Regions from separate parts of the Homo sapiens genome. Here regions 2, 3 and 4 are each linked to region 1. Evidence: promoter capture Hi-C in 16 types of primary human blood cells and fetal thymus (Javierre and others, 2016). All regions are on one chromosome and are shown on one strand. Each heading gives the region's core, a stretch centred on a gene start or on the middle of the fragment in contact. The rest is flanking DNA. Distances are from core to core; before and after follow the strand shown.

Region 1 (3,911 bases), core at 52-2,551:
TTATCTCTCTCTTCTAACCAAAAATCAAATCCAGTGTGCCCTATACTTTTCAATTCCATTTGACTGGCATGGGTTTCATTGAATGCACGTTCCAAAGTTAGACATGATGCTCGGAAAAGAAAATTACTGATCCTAAATGGCTTCTAAACCTGACTCGATACCTATCATAATGACAGATAGTCATTCCTTTAAAATAAGGAATGCTGGGTGTAAATTTTTAAAGGAATGGTAAAGAATAGAGAAAAAACACGTGGGGTGTTGATACCATATGTCAAAATAAGCCACAGAAATCTTTTATGAAAGAACAGTCATCAATTATTTAAAGTCTTTTGCATTCCAATATTAAAAATGAAACACACCCATTAAGTCTCTTAAAAATGTTATTACATTTCTTGATCGAAGTTCAGTTTTTACATCTTAGGTTGCAAGTAAAAGGGCAAAAATCTAAGACTGCAGCTTTTACCAATTCATTTGAAAATATATTAGTAAAACGACTGAATTGGATTCAAACAGAATTTATAAGTAAGGTGCAAATGGACTACAAGTGCGTGTGGCACAGACCGAGCCGGGTACAGAGGTAGCTGAATAAGTGTAGTTTGCAGTCACTTTGCAGATGCCTGCATGCATTACGGCTTAACACACGATGAACGTCAAGGAGAATCCAAACCTTCCAACTTTGCTAACCTTTCTCAAACTGCTTAGTTATGCTAGGAGTAGAATCACGTTAATTCAGAAAACTGAAAAGGTACGTTTCCAAAGAAAATGAGTCCAATGACTTATGAATAACAAAAACTTACCTCTTTCGTGCCCAATTAAGATGTCTTTATGGTTGAAATACTCTACTTCTTCAGTGTAATTCTGTGTATAGGCAGTATTGGAGCCGGCGTTTCTAGATTCAGTCCAGCGTACTTTCGCATGTCCTCTTGCATGAATTTTAAGAGATTTTACTCTGATTTCCCCAGTAACTTCTAAATTTACCCTTCCTGAGACGGTATCCCCACTAGAATACACAGGGACATTGCTGTCATTAAGACAGTCAAAGCTTATTGTCAAACTCTTCACCTTTCCCAGCACCATGTTTATAACAAAATCTATAAAAATATAATGTAAGACAAAAAAGTCAAGATCGCATATAAAATGTGATCTTCACTTAACACTGATCGATATTTTTGCCGTGCAAAATGCTTGCAGGCCGGATCAGTGATTCTCTACAAATAGTTCATTGAGATTTCTTAAAAAGTCAGGGCAGCAGAGGCTGCTGCTCCGCGCTCCCGCTCGTCTCAGTGGTCTCCTTACAAAGACGGGCGGCTAAAAGCTGCCAGCTCACTTTAAGAGCAGCTTTGTGAAAAACAACCCCAGTGCGCAGGCGCAGGCCGCGGCTGCTGTCCGCCCTCCCTGCGCGCCCCCTCCCGCGCCGCGCCGCGCCGCGCTCGCTCCCTTGCCCGCTCGCTCCCGGGTACAGTAGGTGTAGAGCTAGGGGAAGGAGATACTGGAGCTGCTGGCCGGCTGAACCTGACTTCTCTTCATTGTGGGCTCCTATTGGTAGGCAGGCTACCGTATACCCTCGACGTGCTATCTGGAGCCCGTTACCGAGCGCACTCTACTAGAAAGATAATGGCAGAGTGGGGTGCGAGGGTACAAGGGCTGGGTGGGGAGTTTGCAAAGCCAAGTTAGGATAAACTGCAGCGACCAGCCCGAAGCGTGCGTTACCGGCACTGCAGCGTTTTACCAACTGCCTGGATGGGAGGAGGAAAAAGTGATGTGTGAAGAGAGATGGGGGAAGGGAGAAACCGGTTGGGCAAGCGGCCGATTGTTGAGCATAATCTAACGAATTTCCAAAGAAAACGTAATAAAACCGGACAAGAAATATTGTTCATAGACAAGAGCATACTTTGCTTGGATTTTTTTTTTTTAAACCAGTACTTTGTAGGCAGGTTGGAAATGAACTCAGTCGAGGTCAAAGGAACCTTAATCCTTTGAAGAGCGAGGTAGAGAAGCAAGTACAATGTAATCAATAGGCTTTGCTGTCTCCTCAACTTCTTTCTCCTACATTGCTTAATTAGCACCGAAAAACAACCAAGTTGTTTCCAGGATGACACGGGTGGGGGCTGGGGGAAGCTTGATCACTTCCTCGAAGGAAGAAAAAGTCCTTTTAAGACACCACCTACGGCTAGATTTGCAGAGTAAGACATGATTACAACTCCTGTGTCCAGAGGAATAAGAATAGAGTTCGGCCTAAAAAAGTACTACCTTATAAAAGGCATATGACATAGTGGTTTAGCTGACATATTGTTTGCAACAGAATCGGAAAATCTTTGTTAGAAATTAGTGAAGCGCATAAAATTGTTTTTAAAAAGCATGATTTGGTATATAAATAGGGATTTAACTGTGTGAAGCTTTAATTTTCGGCCGAGAGCCTTGGACCATTTAACGTAGTAATTCTCATGATACATCTTAAATATAGGTACATTTCTCTTTTTATTGTGAATGTTTGGTAAAAAATAGCAGTGCTTTCGTCACATCACACTGGGATTCAGAGCATAACAGCATAAACTCATCTAGATTACTGGCAATCAACAGAACTGCCTTACAAGAGAAATGTAGAAAGAAAAAATATGAATCTGGTGCTCTCTCTATATATATATGTATGACCAAAAATACCTTGGAAGATTTTTGGCTGTCCGTGTCTAAACGTTTTAGATTCTTTTGCGTAGTGTATATGGATAGGTTGAGCCTATGAGTCACAATAAACTAAACTTATTGGTCTTGCTGTTTTATTTCAAAAGAAACTAAGCTTTTGGGGGTTGGATTTTAGTTGACAAGGCAATATCTTGGACTCAACAGCAATATATAAAGAGTATAAATATGCAAACTAGACAATTAATGAGCAGGCCATTTATTTCAGAGTTTAGATCGCTATGCATAAAATTATAAATTTGCATATTTAAGTGGGAAAAACAGTCTTATCTTTTCCCTACCTCTTGGTTGACACCTGGTGGAAATTCTAGGTAAAGTACCTGGGGCCTTGTACTAGCTTTGATTACAGATACTACTTGTGTTTTTTCTCCACCTAGTGGTAGAAGTGGTGAATTTCCTAGAATGACAGCTTTTCCTCAGCATAAGGTCAATGATATTTAATAAGCATTCGAAAACCACTGAGCAAGGAATGGATTTAAAAGTGTAGTCCATAATGAATACATAAATTCATTGCACATTTGTGTCTACATTTATGTTAAAAATTATTAAGGGTTAGTGAACAGCTGAATTCGGATTTTTTTAGTAAAATTTATTTAATTAGAATATAACTCATTTCAGAAAAAATAAGAATTAGCTATATAAATACACCAGAATTGCATTTAATAAAAAAGAAGTCTAAGAAATTTATTTGTAGTTTGGAAAATTGTTTTAAAATATTAAATGTTTCATTCCTGTCACTGTGTAGTACATTATTCTTTGTGTTTGAAGCTTTCAGGATCTTTTGAATAGTTGTCTTTATTATTTATTTTGCTATTTTTAAAATTTTCTTTTTACTGTGTCTTCTTAAATACTTAGGTAACTGGCAAATTTCCAAGAAATTCTTACCAGCTGCCATTTTCATTATATTTTTATTTTTTGAGATGGAGTCTCACTCTGTTGCCCAGGCTGGAGTGCAGTGGCACAATCTAGGCTCTCTGCGGCCTCTGCCTCCCGGGTTCAGGCGATTCTCCTGCCTTAGCCTCCGGAGCAGCTGGGATTACAGGCACGCACCACCACCTCTGGCTACTTTTTGTATTTTTAGTAGAGACAGGGTTTCACCATGTTGGCCAGGCTGGTCTTGAACTCCTAGCCTCAAGAGATCCACCCGCCTTGGCCTCCCAAAGTGCTGGGACTATAGACATGAGCCGCTTGCGCCTGGTCTCGCTTTATCTTTT
Region 2 (3,911 bases), core at 1,000-3,499, 5.6 Mb after region 1:
TGCGTGTACTATATAATATCTGAACTGGGATACATCAGCTCCTGTGGTTCACTATTTTTGGTTCTAAAATGTCAGTACTAGGGGCCAGCCTAACGGTTCTGATTACCTTTCACACATTAGGGAGATAGCAGCTCTGAGGTATCATATGATACAGACACCTTCTCTGTACTGATCAAACACATCATTCAGTATGGAGTCATTAACTGGAAGGGTTTGCAGCAGTGGAAGTGAACTCTAAACACCACTATGTCCTTCACTTATTCATGCAAAAATTATTTATTGTATACTTACCCAGGCATTGGGGATACAGCCTTAAAAAAGATTACGACTCTGCCCTCACAAAGCTTGCATTCTTGAGAAGGGAGACTGATAATAAGCAACAAATCCAAAACATTGTTTCAGACAGTGATGAGTGCTGAGAAGGAAATAAAGCAAGGCCAAGTCTTTATAGAGTGTTTGTGGCTATTTTAGATGTATGGTCAGACAAGGGTTCTTTGCAGAGGTGACATTTGAGCCGAGACTTAAATGACAAGATGGAATCAGTAGGCAAAGCACTAAGCAGAAGAAACAGTTCTTGTGCGAGGAGCGAGCAAAAGGAATTATTAACAATGATGGATGGAACTTGGCGACTTCCGGGAACAGCATGAAGGCCTTTGTTACCAAAATATGGTGAGTATGTGCTGATGAGGTCCCAGAGTTAGGCAAGGAGTTTCATTTTTTATTCTAAGTGCAGTTGGTATCCACTGGAAGTTTCAAGTAGAGCGTGCGTTGTGAGGGATGTAATAACAACAGGCAGTTTAAAATACAATATTGTACTTCGATTTGACTTCTTCGAAACCTAGTTTCCAATTCCAGTGCTGGTCAAACAACACCCTGGCCGTCCCTGTTTGAGCAGGCTGTTTGCGCTTGCCGCGGCTTGTTTGTCCCTGGCGCCCCGCTGTTGAAAGCCTCAGAGCGTGTGACAGTTGGCAGGCGCAGTGAGGCGCAGCCCGAGCCAAGTCAATGCAGGGGCCGGGGCTGAGGGAGGGGAAGAGGCAGAGGAGGCGGTGATGGCGCGCTGGGAGGGCGGCGGCCTCTGCAGCGAGGGTGGTGGCGATGCGCATACCGAGAGGATAAGGAAGCGGTTCCCGACGAGCCTCCTCGGGGCTTATGGGGCCCCTGGCGGTTCGGCCTCGGAGGCTAGCGGGGCTGCCCGATTTGGCACTGGAAACAATGGTGGCTCGGGGCTGGAGGCAATGGCGCGAGTGCTGGGGGGCAGGGGCGACTAGGGGAGTTTCGGTTTCTCGGGCCTAGCGCCGCGGAGCCTTGCTGCGGGCCCCAGTGGTAGCACCCCCGGGAACCGCAGGTGTTGATTTAAGGCTCGGAACAGGCGGGCCTTCTGCCCACATCCTGCGGCGCCCGCGACCCGGGCCGGGCGATCCGGCGCCGGGTTTTGTTATCCGCCCGCACCTAGAGGCCGCAAGGCAGCCGCCAGCCCCGGGACTGGACCCCAGGGCGCCCTCGGCCCTGCGAGGTCCCCGCCCTCTCTTCCGTCTCCTCCTCACCGCCCTCCTGAGGCACTCTGATGCGGGCGGGCATCTCTGCCGAAAACACCTACAGCGCCCGCTCCCTCGGTCCTTCGAGCAGTGATCCCTCCGCGGCCAACCTCCCCAGGGAAACCAGCGATTCGCGGTTCAGATAGCGACCTTCGCCCGCAGGTTCCTGCTCTGCCTTCAGACTTCGGCTTCAGTGGCACCTGCTCAGCGAGGCCTCGTCTAACCAAGCCATCCGAATTAACTACCCACTCACTCGCCATCACATCACCCCGATTTAATTCGCAGCGGGGCACTGACTTTACACTCGTGTGTCTTCTGTGTTTATTTATGGTCTGTTTCTGGAATGTCCGCTCCTGGGACTGGGACCATGATTTTCTGGCGCAGTGCGGGTGTCTCGGCGTCCGGGATCGGGCGGGTCGCAGTAGGGCTCCACATTTGTTGAGTGACTGAACACCGTTCCCGGCCGGGGAGAGCGCCGCAGCCGGGTCCACTTCAGGTAGGGGCTGGGCTTTCCCGGCCCCGCCTAGGCCCCGCCCCCAGCGCGAACCCGCTCCCACCTCGCCTGTCCACGGAGCAGCAGGGGGTTTGACTGTGCTTTTCCCTCTTGCTTCCCTCGCTCTTTCTGCAGCTGCCACGAAAACCCGGAACGGCGGAGCGGCGCCGCCCCTCGCGGCACCTCCCTGGCAGCCCTTGGAGGCCGCGCTGGGCATGCTCAGTCAGCTGGGCCGCCTCAGCTCTCGGAGTAGGAAGCTCGGGCGCTCCGGCTGTAAGGAGCCGCGGCGGGGGGAAAATGGAGCCCTTCACCAATGGTGAGTGGGCTGCCGAGGCGCCGGGACCCGGGCTCTCCGGAGCCCTGAGGGTCGTGGGCAGTCGTGACACGCGGGGTCGGGCTGCAGCCGTCTCCCCCAACACCGCGGGCTTCCCACGAGGGCTGAGGGAGGCAGGGAGAGGGGATCTGGGGGAGGCAGGGAGGTTCGGGGGGCGGGCGGCGGCCAGTGCGGGACCCGGGGCTGGCTTGAAGGTCAGCGCCGCCGCCGCTCGCCCGGGGTGCGGCCGGTGGGCAAACAGCAAAGTTTGGGCTGCTGTGCGCAGAGGAGTGGGCAGTGGGAAAGTTGGCAGCTCAGGTTTGCCCCCGGAGGAGGCGGTGTCGGCCCGACTCTCCTGTAGGAGCGTTAAGTTGTGGCAGCTGCCGAGCCCAACTTTTGTGGGGCGCCAGGAGCTGTCCCCCTGCCCTTCAGTGAGCTGCCGGCGTGACTTTTCCTAATAGGGCGGGGTGGGGGTGGGAGGCTTGGCAGGTTAATGTTGTGGAAGGAAGGGAAACTTCAGGAAAGGCTTGCTCACCTCGCTCGGTGCCGCGGAGGTGCCTGGCCACAGTGCCACCCTCCTGACCCTGCCGAGGTACTCGGCAGGGCCACCACGCATCCCCTCACTGGCTGCAGATCACATCAGTTTTTCAGTCAAAGACTTGTTAATGTCAAGGGTCCGTCACGGTGGTGATACCACTGTGTGACAGGAAGCGAGAGTCAACGCAGGGAGCCTGCACCCTGCAAACAGCCACAGCCCTTCACTGAACGGGGAGCATAAATCCCACCCTAGTTAGAACCATGGCTTTTGTGCGGACCAGAAGTGCCAGAGCCACAATATAGGGGTGAGATGTCTTACCGTTTTGCGGTGTTGAGTGTGTGGATTCCCTTTTAAGATAGAAAGTAGGAAAACTGCCAGTAAGGGAGACGACTCACTAAAAGAGGATTCAGTCTCTGGTTGACATGTTTTGCTGAGTGTGGTTGGTTACTTCAGGTACAGTATCACATTAATAGGGGCCACAGTCTATATCCCTGTTTAGTTTGTTAGTTACCACTCAAGAGCAGACAGATATTGTCCACTTTATCCCAAATCCCAGCCAGACTTTGTTGTATGCTGTGCTTCATTCATGGGGCTGTGAACTACTGATTATATTCTCCCTATTCCTAATGTAGAATGCTTTATTCTACTGCCATCTTTCTGTCTGCACTGTTTAATTAGGCTTACTGATAACAACTTTAATTCTGAATTTTCTTTCTCATTCAGGTTCTATTTGTAATTACTAAGACTTAAAGAATAGTCTGGTGAAGTTACTCGAAGAATTAAGGAAGGTTTGAGCTAAAATGAACTAGAGACCATCTAGTACTTTAGTGTAAAATATGTTTAATACAAGTCGTTAAGTCCTTGTAAGTGACTATTCCAATGTTCATTCTTTGTTTTTGGAAGAATGCTTGGAGTTACCATGTTTTTAAATGTGAAATTTCATCTAAATTAAAAAAAAAATCTCTGTGATGAGGCTGACTCACCCATTTGGTCAAGATTAGTGCTAGCTGATTTGCTGAACCTTTGCCTACA
Region 3 (3,911 bases), core at 900-3,399, 5.5 Mb after region 1:
AACTGTGTATGTGGGTTGAGAGGAAAGAACATCACTGTTTGTATACATCTGCACAGGAATGCTCATGGCTACTAGGTACTATAGAGAGTTCTCGGCATGTAACCTGAAATCAACATCATTGGGGGTGTACTTTTCTAGAATTTCCAAAGGGTCTGCTGGCTTCCCCAAAATGTGTGAAGGGATTTCTTCAGGTACGTCTTTTTTAAAAACGAATATAGTGGTCTGAACACTACACAAATTTGCATATCAAGGTGGTTAGTAATGGTTAATTAGGTCTTTGGGATATATATTTAGTCCAGTACACTATAGACAGACATGGATTCAAAGTTAGGCTCTTCTTGTTACTGTGTATGTACTGAATTTGTGGCTTAATGCCAAAGCTTTATATATTCTTATTTGTAAAATGCATATACCATATCTCCCTTGCAGAGGTGTTGACAGGATTGCAGATGATAGGTCTAGGCACGTAACAAGTATTCACTAAATGGAAACCATTATTTTATTTCTGTATTCAAGGGCTGGTACATGATAAACATTCAGGCAATGTCTGAAGGAATATTGGATTTGTATCTTTTTAAAGTAGAGAAACTTTAAAAAGATGTATTCCCCTTTGGCCAAAGGGGAATACATACAAGAAAAGAAACATCTCCCAAGAAATATCGATTGAAATCTTACCTCTAAGAACATCTTACTAAACCTACTATGTTTTCTATTGCTTTTACAGTGTCAAATAGAAACTAAAACTAAACATTTTTCTCCCTGTTTAGGATGACTATTTTTTGAATGTGTGTTTTGAAGTAATTACAAAAGATTCATTGAATTCATCCCGCCCTATCTCCAAACCAGCGGAAACCCCGACTCAAATACAGGAAATGTTTGATGAAGTTTCCTATAACAAGGTAGTAAATATCAGGTGCAGGTGGAAGCTCTGCTTTCAGAAGTGTAATAATGACTATAGAATCAGCAGTTTAAGTCACTGGTGCCAGTTCCTGCTACTTGTTTCACTTTTTATTTGTTCACTTTTCAGACATCACACATGTTCCGTAAAATTTAAGCTTCCTTTAAAAACATACCATACTACCATTTTCTTTATCTCTTTTTTCAACTCTTTTGTTTTTTTTTAAAGGGAGCTTGTATTTTGAATATGCTCAAGGATTTTCTGGGTGAGGAGAAATTCCAGAAAGGAATAATTCAGTACTTAAAGAAGTTCAGCTATAGAAATGCTAAGAATGATGACTTGTGGAGCAGTCTGTCAAATGTAAGTCATATGTTGGGTAACGATAGACTGTTATTTAATCTAGAAAGTAACAGAATAATTGTGAATGTTTATAAATAGCTATATATTGTCAGTCAACCATATTTATTCTGCTTGCTATGTTGTCATGGTCTATAGAAGGCAGCACTTCCCTTTTTCCTCTAACACCACACTAGGATGTCACGCTGGGGTGGCCCCAGGGGCTCACTATTTGACCTGACTTTCTTTGGTTTCTCTTCTACGACTAATCCTACACTTTTATGTTCCCTTGATCTAAAATCTTTAAAATGTTGTAATTTCTACCATATAACACCTAATCTCTGGCAAATTTTAAGGTTGTCAACTGTATTCCCCAATGTGTATATATTTGTTGAGCAAAACTAATCTTCTCTCTTATAAGAAGAAATCTTGCTCAATCTCTAGATCATTGTGCCTATATTTCTAGTGCCTTTACTAGCTGAAATGCCCTTTCTTCTTTCCAACAATTCAAATGCCACCCAACTTTTAAGATCCAGCTGAGATTTCACCTCCTCCTTACAGACTGTTCCAGCCCTCATTCGTTTGCCTGTCTGCTAAATTCTTAGCAGTGCACTTATAATCTGTTCCACATAATAGTACCCTCTTTTATTGTTTTTATTAGTTCAATAATGATAATGTGCTTAAGAACAAAAATTGTGTCTATTCTTTTTTTAATGTGATAGCACCTAGCATATGTTGATCTTATAATAGTGATTAATAAGCAGTTAATGATTGATTAAAGAACTTATGGTCTGTCTTTGGGATTCATGTAGATAATAGGAAAGGCAAAGCAGAAAAATTCAGTTAATTCAGATGATTCTAATAATTATTAAAATATTTTAAAATTTCCAACTGCAAAGAAAATAATTTTTTATAGAACCATTAGACCCAGAGAACTCATACCTGTAATTAGAAGAACCCTAAGTCATTGTAGACAGAAGAGATCCTTTCTTTTTTACAAGCACTTGTGTCCCAGGGACAGTAATAATATTGTTTAATATTTCTGCAGCAGTTTACAGTTTAAAGACACTTTCATGGCCGGGTACAATGGCTCACGCCTGTAATCCCAAGACTTTGGGACACCAAGGTGGGTAGATCACTTCAGGTCAGGAGTTTGAGACCAGCCTGGCCAATTCGTGGAACCCCGTCTGTACTAGAAATACAAACATTAGCTTGGCATGGTGGTGCTTGCCTGTAATCCCAGCTATTCGTGAGGCTAAGGCAGGAGAATCACTTGAACCCAGGAGCTGGAGGTTGCAGTGAGCCGAGATTGCACCACTGCACTCCAGCCTGGGTGACAGAGTGAGACTCTGTCTCAATAATAATAATAATAACAATAATTAATAATAAATAAAAAATCAAAGTTAAAGAATAAAAAGCACTTTCATGTTGATTATCTCATTTGATATTTTTGTGCCCTTATAAAGCACACTTATGGTCCAACTGATGTGTGATTTTGTGGTTAAAGAAACAAAATCCAACAATCAAAAATTATTTCACAGCTCCTATTTTTTACTTGCATTTCTTGAAAATCCTGAGACATATTCAAATACATAGTTTTTACTTACAAAAATACTTATAGGCCTGGTGCGGTGGCTCATGCTTGTAATCCCATCACTTTGGGAGACCGAGGTGGGCAAATTGCCTGAGGTCAGTCTGGCCAACATGGTGAAAACCCATCTCTACTAAAATACAAAAAAAAAAAAAAAAAAAATTAGCCAGGTCTGGTGGATCACCTGTAATCCCAGCTACTCGGGAGGTTGAGGCAGGAGAATCACTTGAATCCAGGAGGCGGAGTTGCAATGAGCTGAGATCACACCACTGGACTCCAGCCTGGTGACAGAGTGAGACTCTGTCTTAAAACAAAACAAAACAAACAAACAAACAAAAAACATATAAAGATGCTCTTTACTATCCATTTCCATCACCCACCGTCAGTGGTCCAGACACACTTTCTCCATGCTTCCGCTTAAGCTTCTCAGCACCAAGTATTGTGTTGCTTCTGTCTCTCATCCCTCTCCATTTCCCTCTCCCTTGCCATGTGTGTGTGCATGTATGTATATTTGTAGACATCAGTTTAGCTCCCCTCCAACACGGAAGAATCTATCATTTGGTGTGCATACTGGCAGTAGAGGGTGGGAGTTAAAAAGAAAATTTGGCCAGCAATTACCAGATCATTTTAGGCCAGCAGTGTAAATTCCTGTGTTATTTTTTGTCACATCATGCTTATAATCATCTCAAAAGATAAAGTAATCATCATTACTCTGTGTTTATAAGTGAGAAAACTGATACTAAGGGACAGATTTGCCCAAAGTCACCAAGTCAGTGAGAAAATCAGTACTTAAAATTTGTCTTCTAAGTCCAATAGTTATTCAATTATATCACAGCTAGTTCCTAGTTTTAAGAAAAGTCCCCCATCAATCTTCCCCTAAAGGTCCTAGATTTTGACCAACTCTCTTCTGACACCAAAGGGCCCTGTAGTATTAAAATAATAAATTACTGAAAATATCTTGCCCACCATTGTGTCACATAAAGTCAATTCTAATACATGTCAATAGCAACTTGAGAATGAGAAGAATTAGTTGCTGTTATTTTTCATAAGATCATTTAAAGGCATTTGAGAGCCTTAGCACATTCT
Region 4 (3,911 bases), core at 963-3,462, 5.5 Mb after region 1:
TGGATAATTAATGCTGCAGAACTTGTTAAGGATTATAAAAAGAAGAAGTAGCAGAGAAAACCTTCATGGTTTGAGTTGGAGCAGTAAGGAAGTAAGTAGAGGCAGGTGGTAGGGTGGCAGTAAGAATTGATTCCCCCAAATTAACTATGCTGTTTGTCCTAATTTTATATGTGTTGTAGCTTTACCCTTCAAAAAGAAAGAAACTTAGTTCTATTTACAAAGGTAGTAAATTCAGTTTGATTTAATTGTGCTTTCAAAAGTAGTGTAAAGGGAAAAGAACCGAACCTTAAAAAAATTCTGTAAGAATATTATAAACTCAAAATTTATTTCCATGGCTTTTGACATATTGAAAATAAACTGGGGATAAATACCTACCTTGACCAGCAACCTTTACACCAGTAGCCATAAAATGAGGCCATTCAGATAATGTTATTGAAAGAGGTGAAGTTCAATGCCATTCGTAGTAATAATAATATCTGGTATCCAAAGAATATAGAATATATATATAGAATATTCTTTGTGACTTATGAAGACAAAATAGAGACATCTTGCACAGTTTACTTTCAGGCATACACTTAAAATTACATGTGTGCCTGTGGTTCCAGCTAATTGGGAGGCTGAGACATCAGGATTGCTTGACCCCAGGAATTTGAGGCCAGCCTGGGCAACATGGTGACACATTGTCTTTCAAAAAAAATAAAATATGGCCAGGCGCAGTGACCCACGCCTGTGATCTCAGCACTTTGGGAGGCTGAGGCAAGTGGATCACCTGAGGTCAGGAGTTCGAGACTAGCCAGGCCAACATGGTGAAACCCCGTCTCTACTAAAAATACAAAAATTAGCTGGGTGTGGTGGCACATACCTGTAATCCCAGCTACTCGGGAGGCTGAGGGAGAAGAATCACTTGAACCCCAGAGGCAGAGGTTGCAGTGAGCCAAGATAGTGCCACTGCATTCCAACCTGGACAACAGCGAGATTCCGTCTCAAAAACATAAATAAATGAATAAAAATAAAGTAGGCTGGTCACAGTGGCTCACGCTTGTAATCCCAACAGTTTGGGAGGATTGCTTGAGTTTAGGAGTTTGAGACCAGCCTGGGTAACAGGGAGACCCCCATCTCTACAAAAAAGGTAGCCGAGTGTGGCGGTGTGTGTCTGTAGTCCCAGCTACTCTGGAGGCTGAGGTGGGAGGATCACTTGAGCCCAGGAAGTTGAGGCTGCAGTGAGCTGTGATCATGATTGCACACTCTACTCCTGCCTGGGCAACAGAGCAAGACCCTGTCTAAAACATAAATAAATAAACAAAAATTTAAAATATAACCAAATGTTAAAAACATTCAACATGCAATGAATTTACACACCTGCCTTCTGCTCGCTGCACAAGAATTCAGAAGAAATTCATTACATTCAATTTTAAGGTAGGGTTTTTTGGGGGAGTCCTAAAGGGTTTTTATTTGTAATAACCAGATAACAGCTTAATTTCTGCTCTATTTTGTGGATACTTGGCCTAATTCTGACAGAGAGCAGATTTTCCCTTACTCACACATACCTTTTTACATGTTTAAGATTTTATTTGTAAATTGAAATCTTTTTTGTCATGCTATAAGTGTGTTTTTTTCTTCTAGATTAAATTCATGTATTGAAAATATTGTTCAGACCCCATGTGACATAACTGGAGCCAGTGCAGTGCCATGAAGAACTACGAGATTAGCCTGGATATTAACTTGTCTTCTAGAGAATAGATTTCATGTTCCATTCTTCTGCAATGGTTAATTCACACAGAAAACCAATGTTTAACATTCACAGAGGATTTTACTGCTTAACAGCCATCTTGCCCCAAATATGCATTTGTTCTCAGTTCTCAGTGCCATCTAGTTATCACTTCACTGAGGATCCTGGGGCTTTCCCAGTAGCCACTAATGGGGAACGATTTCCTTGGCAGGAGCTAAGGCTCCCCAGTGTGGTCATTCCTCTCCATTATGACCTCTTTGTCCACCCCAATCTCACCTCTCTGGACTTTGTTGCATCTGAGAAGATCGAAGTCTTGGTCAGCAATGCTACCCAGTTTATCATCTTGCACAGCAAAGATCTTGAAATCACGAATGCCACCCTTCAGTCAGAGGAAGATTCAAGATACATGAAACCAGGAAAAGAACTGAAAGTTTTGAGTTACCCTGCTCATGAACAAATTGCACTGCTGGTTCCAGAGAAACTTACGCCTCACCTGAAATACTATGTGGCTATGGACTTCCAAGCCAAGTTAGGTGATGGCTTTGAAGGGTTTTATAAAAGCACATACAGAACTCTTGGTGGTGAAACAAGGTAAGAACTTGCTCAGGTAATTTACATTCTTTTGTGATAATTTCCTTACGAGTTACATCTCTTTGCCAGGAGCAGACTTCAGCAGCCATTTATGAGAAATCCAGTGAACTATGGGGAACCCAGAAGAAGGAAAAGATCTACCATTCCTTAAGGAAACCACAGTAGAGATGTAAAGACAGGACTCAGAGGCATAAACAGCTAGAGGGTGAATAACTAGGAGGAGAGGCCAGTATATGACTGATATGATAGATATGCTTATGTGCTAGGGAAAGAGATGGTCAGTGCAGAGAGGGCTGAAATAGGGAATGCTTCTCAAAGGAAGTGAGTCTTCATCTGGGACCAGAAGGAAATGTAAGTGAGACTGGGATTGGGAGAGAGGAAGTGACAAAGTATACATTGCCTAGGTAACAGCCATGACTCATATCGAATAGTCAGAAACAAGGAACTAGTTTGGAAAATTGAGAAATATAGTCAATTTGATCAAGTCACATTCATTGAGCACATACTATGTGCCAGGCACTGCACTAGGCACTGAATGTATAATGGTGGGATCTGATGGAAGAGACAACCAGGACAAGAAAATCAATAAAATTGGCAAGGTAATTGGCCAGTGTTATGAATGAAATAAAACAAGGTGCAAGAAAGGTAGAAAATGAGGCTGGAGATTGAAACTAATTCAGTTGACTGGGCAGGGAAGTGTTTGTTGAGGAAGTGAATTTAAATTGAGAGCTGAGTTTTTTTTTAAAGAGACAGTTATGAGAACATCTCGGGGCAAGTGCTCTAAAGTGGGATTGGTTGAGGAAGGCCAGTGTAAGCTGAGGAGAGCGAACAAGAGGGAGAAAGGGATCAGATCATGTGGAGCCTTGGGGCGTCTTGTAAGGAGTTTTGACTTTAACTCAGATGAAATGGGAAATCACTGGAGGATTCTGCTCTGATTTATGCTTTATAAAGATCAAGTCTATGTTGAGGGTATGTTATAGAGAAGCAGAGTAATCAATTGGGAGGTCATTGCAGTAGTTCAGGTAAGAAGTGATGCTAATTTGGGCCAGGCTAGTGGCAGTGCTTATGGAGTGAAACAATTGAACTTGGCAGTTATTTTGGAGGGCAAAACAACAGAGATTGCTGACATATTGGTCATGTGAGGTGAGGGAAATAGAAGAATCAAGGATGCTTCATAGAGTGGACGGCTTGGTTTCCCAGGGCCAGGATCCATCTGGGAGGTAAGAGGAGTCTGGCTCAGTGCACTCTCACGTTATGTGAATTGTGTTCAATTGCCAGTTGGAGAAATCTAAATTCCATGGCTTAACCACACAGGGGCATATTTTTCTCATGCAACAAGAAGTCCAGAAGTAGGGCAGCTCAGATTGCTATAGTGCTGTTCAGAGTCATCCAGGACCCAGGCTCCTTCTGTCTTTCTGCTCAGCCATCCTATGGCTTTCTTCCTAATACTTGCAAGATGATTGCTGCACCTCTAGGCATCAAGTCCACATTCTAGGCAGGAAGAAGGGGGACACGGGGGAGAGATAAGGGCAAAAAGAAACATTCCACTTGAATCTAACACTCTTTACAAAGATTTCCCACCCAATGACTT

The links. The method cuts DNA at HindIII sites, captures the fragments that hold promoters and counts their contacts. A CHiCAGO score of 5 or more calls a contact.
Region 2: a contact is called between the fragment with the promoter of LNPEP here and the fragment with the promoter of ARRDC3 in region 1, in 1 of 17 cell types (fetal thymus). The highest score is 10.7, in fetal thymus.
Region 3: a contact is called between a fragment that was not itself captured here and the fragment with the promoter of ARRDC3 in region 1, in 1 of 17 cell types (total CD4 T cells). The highest score is 6.3, in total CD4 T cells.
Region 4: a fragment that was not itself captured here is called in contact with the fragment with the promoter of ARRDC3 in region 1 in 1 of 17 cell types (fetal thymus); the score reaches 5.4 in fetal thymus.

Annotation. Positions count from the first base shown.
Region 1 is chr5:91,382,016-91,385,926 of GRCh38, forward strand. ARRDC3 (arrestin domain containing 3) reads right to left here and starts at 1,302. Exons shown (of 8, transcript NM_020801.4): 1 at 798-1,302. The coding sequence starts at 1,077. The region is part of intron 1 of ARRDC3-AS1 (ARRDC3 antisense RNA 1); the gene reads left to right. RefSeq lists a silencer at 1,209-1,518 and enhancers at 1,372-1,889, 1,769-2,068. The HindIII fragment of the contact is 1,076 bases long and covers 1,041-2,116 here.
Region 2 is chr5:96,933,831-96,937,741 of GRCh38, forward strand. LNPEP (leucyl and cystinyl aminopeptidase) reads left to right here and starts at 2,250. Exons shown (of 18, transcript NM_005575.3): 1 at 2,250-2,344. The coding sequence starts at 2,326. LOC124901030 reads right to left here and starts at 2,245. Exons shown (of 1, transcript XM_047417984.1): 1 at 261-2,245. The coding sequence starts at 2,245. The coding sequence ends at 1,541. It also overlaps a transcript of ERAP1 not described here. RefSeq lists enhancers at 454-663, 724-853, 1,164-1,303, 1,604-1,913 and silencers at 934-1,053, 1,494-1,563, 2,504-2,573, 2,704-2,783. The HindIII fragment of the contact is 7,112 bases long and covers 343-3,911 here.
Region 3 is chr5:96,895,606-96,899,516 of GRCh38, forward strand. ERAP2 (endoplasmic reticulum aminopeptidase 2) reads left to right here. Exons shown (of 19, transcript NM_022350.5): 8 at 768-899; 9 at 1,127-1,258. It also overlaps a transcript of ERAP1 not described here. Among named protein-coding and RNA genes, the nearest start is that of ERAP2, 21 kb to the left of the region's middle. RefSeq lists an enhancer at 1,521-1,580. The HindIII fragment of the contact is 2,192 bases long and covers 1,054-3,245 here.
Region 4 is chr5:96,877,941-96,881,851 of GRCh38, forward strand. It overlaps ERAP2 (endoplasmic reticulum aminopeptidase 2), which reads left to right. Exons shown (of 19, transcript NM_022350.5): 2 at 1,624-2,320. The coding sequence starts at 1,746. It also overlaps a transcript of ERAP1 not described here. Among named protein-coding and RNA genes, the nearest start is that of ERAP2, 3.4 kb to the left of the region's middle. The HindIII fragment of the contact is 5,584 bases long and covers 1-3,911 here.